2 separate regions of the Homo sapiens genome follow, and region 2 is linked to region 1. Evidence: promoter capture Hi-C in 16 types of primary human blood cells and fetal thymus (Javierre and others, 2016). All regions are on one chromosome and are shown on one strand. The core of a region is centred on a gene start or on the middle of the fragment in contact, and the rest is flanking DNA. Distances in the headings are between cores, read along the strand shown.

Region 1 (4,602 bases), core at 1,433-3,932:
CAGCCTGGGCGAGTCACCTCCTCTGAGAAGCCTCCCAGCCTGCCCCACTGAAAGGGGACGAGCAGTCCCTGCTAGTGCATTGCTCGTGGTCATTTCCTGTGGCCCTCGTTGTTTTCCTAATGCCTTCCTTTGCTCGAGTCATCCCACCGGACCCTCAGCTCCTTAAGGGCAGTGCCGTGGGCTGAAGTGTGCCCAGCATCCCTGGGATGAAGCCCTGGCCCCCGGCTGATGAGAGGAGGCAGCGGGTTCTCTGGGAGGTGATCGGAGTTAGCCGAGGTCATGAGGGTGGGGCCCACGATGGGATTAGAGCCTTTACAAGGAAGGATGCCAGGCTGGGCACCGTGGCTCACACGAGTAATCTCAACACTTTGGGAGGCTGAGGCAGGAGGACTGATTGAGCCAGGAGTTCAAGACTAGCCTGGGCAACATAGCGAAACTCCATCTCCACAGAAAAAAGTTTTAAACAATAGTTAGTGCATGGGTGTGGTGGCACGCACCTGTGGTCCCAGCTACTATGGAACCTGAGGTGGGAGGATGGCTTGAGCCCAGGAGGTGGAGGCTGCAGTGATCTGTGATTGTGTCACTGCACTCCAGCCCGGGTGACAGAGGGAGACCATCTCTGGAAAAAAAAAAAAAAAAGAAAGAAAGAAAGACACCAGGGCATCTGCATGCCCTCTCTCTCCCTGTCTCTCTTTCCCTCTCTCTCTCCATCTCTCCCTCCCTCTTTCTCTCTCCCTCTCTCTCTCTCTCTCTCCATCTCTTTCTCTCCCTCTCACCCTCTTTCTCTCTCTCTCCCTCTGTCTCTTTCTTTCTCCCTCTCTCTCTCACATACACACGCACACACACACACACACACTCTCTCTCTCTCTCTGTCTTGGGAGGACACGGTGAGAAGGTAGCCATCTGCAAACCAGGACACTGGCCCTCCTAGAACCAACCCCGCTGGCACCCGATCCCAGACTTCCAGTCTCAGGGCGGGGAGACAATGTGTGCTGCTGTCTAGACTCCAGTGTCCCGCTTTTGTTATGAGAGCCGGGGCCGACAAAGGCAGGCAGGAGTCAGGTCTGCCCTGCTCACTGCTGTGCCCCCACATCTAAACCAGCCTGGGGCTCGGCATACAGTAGGTATTTAATAAATGCACACTCCAGGAGGAAACAGACTTTGTCTGGTAACCCTAGGGCCTGGCGGGCCCAACAAGATTTGCTGAGTAAATGTTTGTGAATAAATGAATGGGAGTCAGTGAAACCAAACCAGCACGGTTTTTTTTTTTTTTTTTTTTTTTTTGACACGGAGTCTCGCTCTGTCACCCAGGCTGCAGTGCAGTGGCGCGATCTCGGCTCACTGCAACCTCCACCTCCTGGGTTCAAACAATTCTCCCTGCCTCAGCCTCCCAAGTAACTGGGATTACAGGTGTCCACCACAACGCCCGGCTAATTTTTGTATTTTTTAGTAGAGACGGGGTTTCTCCATGTTGGCCAGGCTTGTCTTGAACTCCTGGCCTCAGGTGATCTGCCCGCCTCAGCCTCCCAAAGTGCTGGAATTACAGGTGTGAGTGGCCGCGCACGGCTGCACAGTTTTCAAAGTGGGGTTCATGGGCTTGGCGGGCTGAGTCTGCTCCTGCCTCCCAGCGAGACTCGCCCAGGCTTGTGCCAATGGTCCTGCTCCTGCCCTTTAGGGAGTGCCCTCGACGCGGACACCTGAGCCCTGAGCTGCAGCCCTGGAGGAGGAGGACGCAGCTGGTGCTGGGAAGGGCTGGGAGGCCGGCCACGCACCTGGCACGCTACTACTTCCTGGGGTTCTCAGGCAGGAGCAGGGTCCTGGTGGCCTTCCTGGTGGATGGACAGAACCCTCACAGCCCCAGCGGGCTGCGCATGAGCTCTGGAGCCACAGAGCAGGTCCCACCATGTGCCTGTCGGCCACGTCTGCTGCCTGGCACAGCCACGTGCATCCGGAGCCGTCTGCAGCGTAACTCAAAGTGAGGGGGATGGGCACATGTGCACGACGCCCGACGCCCCTCTGCAGCACTCAACAGGGAGGGCAGGGAGCTGGAATTTGTCCCAGCTGGGCACAGGCTGCTGTTGGCAGCCAGGGTCAGGGAGACTCTCAGAGTCCCCCACTTCTGTGGAACAGACAGTTTCTTTGGTTCTGGAATTAAACTATTAATAGCAGTGGAGATCAAGAAACTCAAGTGCAGGGCAGCTGACAGGTGGTCTCGAATGCACCCTGGAGGGTGTGCAGCCAGCAGCCCTCAGAGTCAGTCTAAGTTTGGCAAAGGACCGCTGTGCGGGCCAGGCATGGTGACAGTGACGTCTTGGTGTCAGGGCCTCCTGTCTCATACCCTCGCTCCTGCAAGGGCCTCTGCACCTGGGCAGGTGGGCGTCTGGGTGCTGGGGGAGCTGACTCCTTCAAGGAGATGGTTTCCTGTCTCAGGGAGGTGGGGGGTACCCCTGGGATCTGCTTCTAGGGGCATAAGCTCCGGCCTATTGAGTGACTGATGGACCAGAGCTCTATCTTTCTAGAAGGCCTGGGAGAAGCCAGGAATCCCCTCCCGGAGCCTCACCCCACTCCTCCCTCCAGCCATCCTCCTCCAGCTCTTTGTGACATCACTGCCGTTGCCATGGGAACCCTGCCAACTGAGCGGATGACTTCACAGGAGGATGGGAGGCGCTGGGCTGGGCCGGCCTGGGTCTCGCAGCAAAGGTCTTTGATAACCAGCAAAACGGCAAAGGGAGGCAGGAAAACCACCCGCAGGGAGGCCAGTGTGGGTTTAAGGTGATGGCATTCCCCAGCCCTGCCCGGCACCGGCCTCCCAAGCCTGGGACCTGGGGGCTCCCTGCCTCCTTCCAGATGGAGGTGGGCATGGTGGAGTGTGAGGGGCCTGGGTCTGCCGGGGCTGGCTGGGGAACCCTGGCTGGAGCTGCTTCAAGCCTCGGTTTCTCTTTCTAGGAAGTGAGACCAGGACCACAGACTGGGCGCTCCCTGCTGAGTCTGTGGCCCTGAAGGCTGTTCAGCTCTAAGCGTCGGTGCACGGACAGGCCAGACAGGGCTGTATTGCTCCAATCGCCCTGCAAGAATCACAGCCAGACGGGGGCTTCCCGAGTGCTGCCCACCTTGCCGGCACGCAGGAGGAGGTGGCATGGACTGGGGAGGAGGAAGCACTCTCACTCCTGCTGGAGCCTCTGCCCAGGAACCCCGATTGGCCCAGCCGTCCCTGGGGAGGCCCATCCCACGTGTCCCGCACCCCGTGTCTGTCAGCACTGATCAGGGTCTCCCAGACACCTGCTCTGGGGTTGCCATGGGGACGAGCGGGAGGGTGAGTGTGGCGCACACAGCTGTCTGTAGACACACAGAGGGCATGCACGCATGTGTCTGTGCTCACCTGCATGTGTTCACACGGACTGGGCACCGCCGGAGGTGTTCACACAGCGGTGTACACCGACCCCTCTGCAGATGTGCACACACCCAGCAAGGCTACGTCCACAGGCGTGTATGTGTTCTTGCACCAGGAAGTGGGTCACGCCCCACACCACACATCGTATACTCTGTCCCTGCGGCACGCACCTGTCTGGGTGCACCAGGCAGTCTAAGCCCATGTCACCTATGTGTACACATATGTGCACATACCTACTCAGGCACACCAGTGTGTGTACACGGCTGTCCAGGCACACTGGGCAGTCCAAGCCCACGCCTGCCCAGACTCTTGGAATCGGGCACTTTCTGAGGCTGCCCCGATGGGCGTTCCTTTCCCCAGCCAGTACATCCTCTCTTCCTAACCCCACGTCTGCTGGACTCTTAAGGTGTCCACGCGGCCATGAACATCTCCAGGGCCTGCACTGCCCACTACCAGGACCCCAGCGGAACCCAGCATCTGGTCACTAGGGGTCTGCATGGGCAGTCACTTCCTGGGGGCCTGCACCCCTTAAGGAGGGTGAAGGACGGGCCAGCCCAGCTGGGGCTGAATCCTCACAGCCTTGTTCACAGGGAGAGGCTGACCTGCGCCCATTTTACAGACAACAAAACTGAGGCTGAGAGAGTAACAGCCCGGCCAGCACATGGCAGAGCGTGGCGCAGGCCCAGGCCTGCCTTGTGAGGTCCCTGCCGTTCCCTGCAGGGTACATAGAGGCGGAAGCTGATGTGGCCCCCACTGGGCGTTCTTTCACTTTCTCTCCTTTGATTCCACAGTCCTCAGACCTAGGAATTAAAGAAACGTCCGTAGTTTCCGATGAAGGAAATATTAATAGAAGCTCAGAGACGTAAGGTAACTGACCCTAGGTCACACAGCAGAGTCAGGGAGCTGGTGAGGTTGAGGGGAGGGAGCCCCAGGAGGGCCTCAAAAATCTCCCTTCCCACTCCACCCAGCCAGGGGCAGGTGCAGCCGGCAGGTGGGCCGCTGGCCCTGGGTATGCCCTGTTTATGCCTCTGCATCTAGCGTACATGACGAAGGCAATTTTCCATGTTTCAAGTGCCACGGTGTTGCCTGCCTCTGCTGATCAGCCCCGATCTTTCTTGGCTGTCTCTTCCCTAGCTCCATGCAGATGCACCCCCAATTCAAGATCCCTAAGCTCCCAGCCCCACTCCTCTCTACTCTGCCTGTTGCAAGGC
Region 2 (4,526 bases), core at 1,044-3,543, 670 kb before region 1:
TAGAGGGAAAACTCAGGAATTTCTTTTTTTTTGTGAGACGCAGTCTGGCTCTGTCGCCAGGCTGGGGTGCAGTGGCGCAATCTCGCTCTGTTCACTGCAAGCTCTGCCTCCTGGGTTCAAGCGATTCTCCTGCCTCAGCCTCCCGAGTAGCTGGGACTACAGGAGCCTCCCACCACGCCCAGCTAATTATTGTACTTTTAGTAGAGATGGGGTTTCACACCACGTTGGCCAGAATGGTCTCAATCTCTTGACCTCATGATCCGCCCACCTCGGCCTCCCAAAGTGCTGGGATTACAGGCATGGGCCACTACACCCAGCCAACTCAGGCAATTTTTTGATAAAATAAATATTAAATGATCAACCACCAAAAATAAAAAAATAAAAAAATAAATCTTGAGTATACTACTCCTTGTGCTTAGAAAGAAAATAATATTCTCAGCCAGGCACGGTGGCTCACGCCTGTAATCCCAGCCCTTTGGGTGGCCAAGGCGGGCAGATCACCTAAGGTCAGGAGTTCAAGACCAGCCTGGCCAACATGGTGAAACCCTGTCTCTAATAAAAATACAAAAATTAGCCAAGCGTGGTGGTGGACGCCTATAGTCCCAGCTACTTGGGAAGCTGAGGCAGAAGAATCATTTGAAACCAGGAGGCAGAGACTGCAGTGAGCCGAAATCGCACTCCTGCACTACAGCCTGGTGACAGAGTGAGACTCCATCTCAAAAAAAAAAAAAAAAAAAAAAAAAAAAAATCCATTAACACCCTCCAAACAATACGGTGGCCACTTCAGAGCTCAGGATAAGGAATCGTCAGTTCCTGTGGGAATCTACATACCTGGGTGCCTTTCGGAGTCCTATCTACTTTCACACACAAGTAGTCTCCGTTCTTCTGCCAATGGAGCTTGCAGTCCACCACATTGAACAGGTTCCTCACTCGGATCTCTTGCCTGGTAGGGAGCTGCATCAGGGTTACCCTGGCTGGAATATCTTTGTCTTCAGGCACCCAGAAGGCGATTATGTTACCACCAGGAGACCAAGAAAAGTCTCTGCAGAACAGGAAAATAAAATGTTAAAGCAAAGACCAAGTGATGACGAAACTGAAAAGCAGAAGAGAATAGAACAACTCATTTGCTATATAGAAGCTCAATGCTGTCACAGCTGACGCTGAGCGCTCCCTCTGCACAGCCACTGCTCTGGGCATGCCGCGCAGCTTCATAGGTCCTCGCCAGGACCCTGTGGCACTACTGTGCTCACTGTGACAAGGAGTGAATGCAGACAGAATATTAGCAACCCCACCATCACGCACAGACTCATATGGACTCCAGCCTGGGCTCCGTCAGCCCACTCTTAAGACACCGCACACTGCTGCTTTGAGGCAAATAAGTTTTAGGCTGACGGATCTGGCTACATGTCATCTAAAGATTAATTAAGGTGCAAATGGGGAAAATGGCAAATCAAGTGTAAGGAATGAGCAAGAACAAGGGCAGCTCCCTCCACTTTATCAACTACTCTACAGAAGAGCTGCTGTAACGAACGGCTCCTGAGCTCACCTACATGAAAAACATCTTTATACACGCTATGTGCTGTTTTGCATTTTTTGAGAACCAACGTCCTGGTCTTTTCATTTTATAAGCCATAATTTTGCCCAAGAATGTAAAAACGAAAGAAGAAACGTCAATGTCCTTGGATTGTTGGAAGTTCACTGCCGTGATACTGACCAGTCCCAAGTTTTGCGATAAATAAAAACGTGCCCATTCTTTGCTGGTGAAAATGAGCCGAAGGCTCCCCAAACCCTGCCTCGGATGGAAGAGTACCAGGAAAACCTTTCACCTAAGCAGAGTCCCCTCTTTTCCTTAAAAGGCTGGAAACCCCACCCTCCTCAGTTTCTAGATCAAAGACGAGGTAGATGGAAGGAAGCCGACTCAAGGCTCTGGCCTTGAAAATTCATTTCTAGGCACGGGAAGGGGTCACTGAAGTGGTGCCTCAAGGGTGGCGGGCCCAATGCTGAGCAGCCTTGCTGCCCACTGACTCAAGCCTCCATCCTTGTGTCCAGAACAAACTCACCTTAGGCCGGGCGCGGTGGCTCACACCTGTAATCCCTGCACTTTGAGAGGCTGAGGCGGGCAGGCGGATCACTTGAGGTCAGGAGTTCGAGACCAGCCTGGCCAACATGGTGAAACCCCGACTCTTCTAAAATATACAAAAAATTAGCTGGGCGTAGTGGTTGCGCGCCTGTAATTCCAGCTACTCAGGAGACTGAAGCACCAGAATCGTTTGAACCTGGGAGGTGAAGGCTGCAGTCAGCCGAGATCACGCCACTGTACTCCAGCCTGGGCAACAGAGTAAGACTCTGTCTCAAAAAAGATTTAAAAATGGCTGGGTGTGGTGGCTCACGCCAGTAATCCCAGCACTTTGGGAGGCTGAGGTGGGCAGATCACTTGAGGTCAGGAGTTCTGAGACCAGCATGGCCAACACAGTGAAACCCCATCTCTACTAAAAATACAAAAATTAGCTAGGCATGGTGGCAGGCACCTGCAGTCCCAGCTACTTGGGAGTCTAAGGCAAGGAGAATCACTTGAACCCAGGAGGTGGAAATTGCAGTGAGCCAAGATCTCGCCACTCTACACCAGCCTGCAAGACAGAGTAAGACTCTGCCTCAAAAAAAAAAAAAAAAAAAAAAAAAAAAAAAAAATTTTAAAAAAAGAACAAACTCACCGTTTTCTCTCCAACTGGTTAAGAACTGAGTGACAGGCTGGGCATGGTGGCTCACGCCTGTAATCTCAGCACTTTGGGAGGCTGAGGCGGGCAGATCACAAGGTCAGGAGTTTGAGACCAGCCCAGCCAACATGGTGAAACCCCATCCCTACTAAAAATACAAAAATTAGCCGGGCTTGGTGGCACATGCCTGTAGTCCCAGCTACTCGGGAGGTTGAGGCAGAAGAATCACTTGAACCCAGGAGGTGGAGGTTGCAGCGAGCCAAGATCGTATCACTGCACTCCAGCCTGACGGAGCGAGACTCTGTCTCTAACAACAACAACAAAAAGCTGAGTGCTAAAGGAGAGACAGCAAATAAAGGAAACCAACTGCAATGGACCACGTCTGTGTCCCCCAGATTCACAGGGTGAAATTCTAACCCCCTGGGGTGACGGCATGGGGTGGGGCCTTTTGGGGGGTGGGAGGTCCTGAGGGGGAAGCCCTTGGGAATGAGATGAGAGACTTTACAGAACAGGCCACGGAGGCCTTCCTCCAGGGAAGGCTGGACCGAGGGGCTGTCCACTAGGAGGGAGGTGGGCCGTCACCAGACAGTCTGCAGGCACCCTGACCTCAAGCTCCCAAGCTCCAGAACTGGGAGAAAGAAATCTCAGCTGTCATAAGCCACCCAGCCTATGGTATTGTGTTTTTTTTTTTTTTTTTGGTATTGTGTTAAGCAGCCTGAACACACTAAGACACCAAACTGATAAGAATACTCACTTTATCCCAGAGATCTTCAAACTCTTCTTGTCCAAAAGACCCATAGACTGCCCAAAAAAAAGGAAGGCTGCAGTTGAGTCAAATCATGTCAGTGTCTCAGAAACACACCTAACTTTTTACAAAAGGAAACAAGAGTCTGATGTGAGTTTGCCTAGGGGGCAGTGCACACAGAGCGTGACAGTGAACCCATCCACCCACCCGCCACCCAGAACTGCAGTTCTGAAGCCCACTGCATTAACTCCCATCCAGGACTTCCCACGGCTGCGCCAGGTGGGCAGGAGTGACTGAAGAGCTCTGCCCAGAGCAGGGGCAGTTAAAAAGGCACAGGAGACAGGCCTTTCCTATGCATCTGTGAAACCTCCTCCTCCTCTTCTAGCACAAATAAGGAAAGGCACCACACCCCGGTTACAAGCAAGGACCGGACGGGGCGTTTGCCATCACTGAGGCCACTTACAGGAGTTTCATAGATGCTAAGCGTATCCAGGGTCATTCTGGCAAAGAATTTGCCATCATGGCTCCACCTAAGAAAAACAAAAGTGCCAGGGTATTCCCATGAAAAGACAAAGGCTACAGAGCTCGTTACAATGGTCCACTTACTTAAAAATAGGCCAATGGGCTGAGCTCTCACAGTGAAAACCCCTCTTCTTGTGCCCCGTAAGGATGTCCCAGATGATTATGGCCTGAGGGTCATCCTGCGTGTCCATCAGGGGGCTAAAGGTCACCAGGTACCTAGAAGAGAAGGGCAACACTGTACACTATCCTCCTCTCACGAGAGGATCACAGTCTGTCTGTGCGGCCAGAACACGCCGTCAGAACTCGCGGAACCAGCTCTCTCCCCAAACCCCACACTGCCCGGCCCCAAGAGACCCAAGCGGAAGCGGGAAGCAGCGGCGCTTGTTCATTCTGGTGTCAATACGCTGCAGGCGCTCCGGTTTCTCCAAGATCAGCACAGAAGATCTCACCGATCCCACACAAGGCTGCTAAGTGATCCAGAGGGTGGCGCAGTGTGGAACTCTATCTTTACCCATGTTTAATAAAGACTAACAAGTTAAAAAAAT

The links. The method cuts DNA at HindIII sites, captures the fragments that hold promoters and counts their contacts. A CHiCAGO score of 5 or more calls a contact.
Region 2: a contact is called between a fragment that was not itself captured here and the fragment with the promoter of LNCRI in region 1, in 1 of 17 cell types (naive B cells). The highest score is 5.8, in naive B cells.

Annotation. Positions count from the first base shown.
Region 1 is chr7:1,692,430-1,697,031 of GRCh38, reverse strand. It overlaps LNCRI (lncRNA radiation induced regulator of PLK1 and RAD51), which reads left to right and starts at 2,682. Exons shown (of 4, transcript XR_007060188.1): 1 at 2,682-2,772; 2 at 2,947-4,258; 3 at 4,526-4,602. All of the region lies in intron 2 of ELFN1 (extracellular leucine rich repeat and fibronectin type III domain containing 1), which reads right to left. The HindIII fragment of the contact is 12,694 bases long and covers 1-4,602 here.
Region 2 is chr7:2,365,988-2,370,513 of GRCh38, reverse strand. It overlaps EIF3B (eukaryotic translation initiation factor 3 subunit B), which reads right to left. Exons shown (of 19, transcript NM_001037283.2): 7 at 4,066-4,197; 8 at 3,923-3,989; 9 at 3,469-3,515; 10 at 832-1,042. Among named protein-coding and RNA genes, the nearest start is that of EIF3B, 13 kb to the right of the region's middle. The HindIII fragment of the contact is 4,651 bases long and covers 1-4,526 here.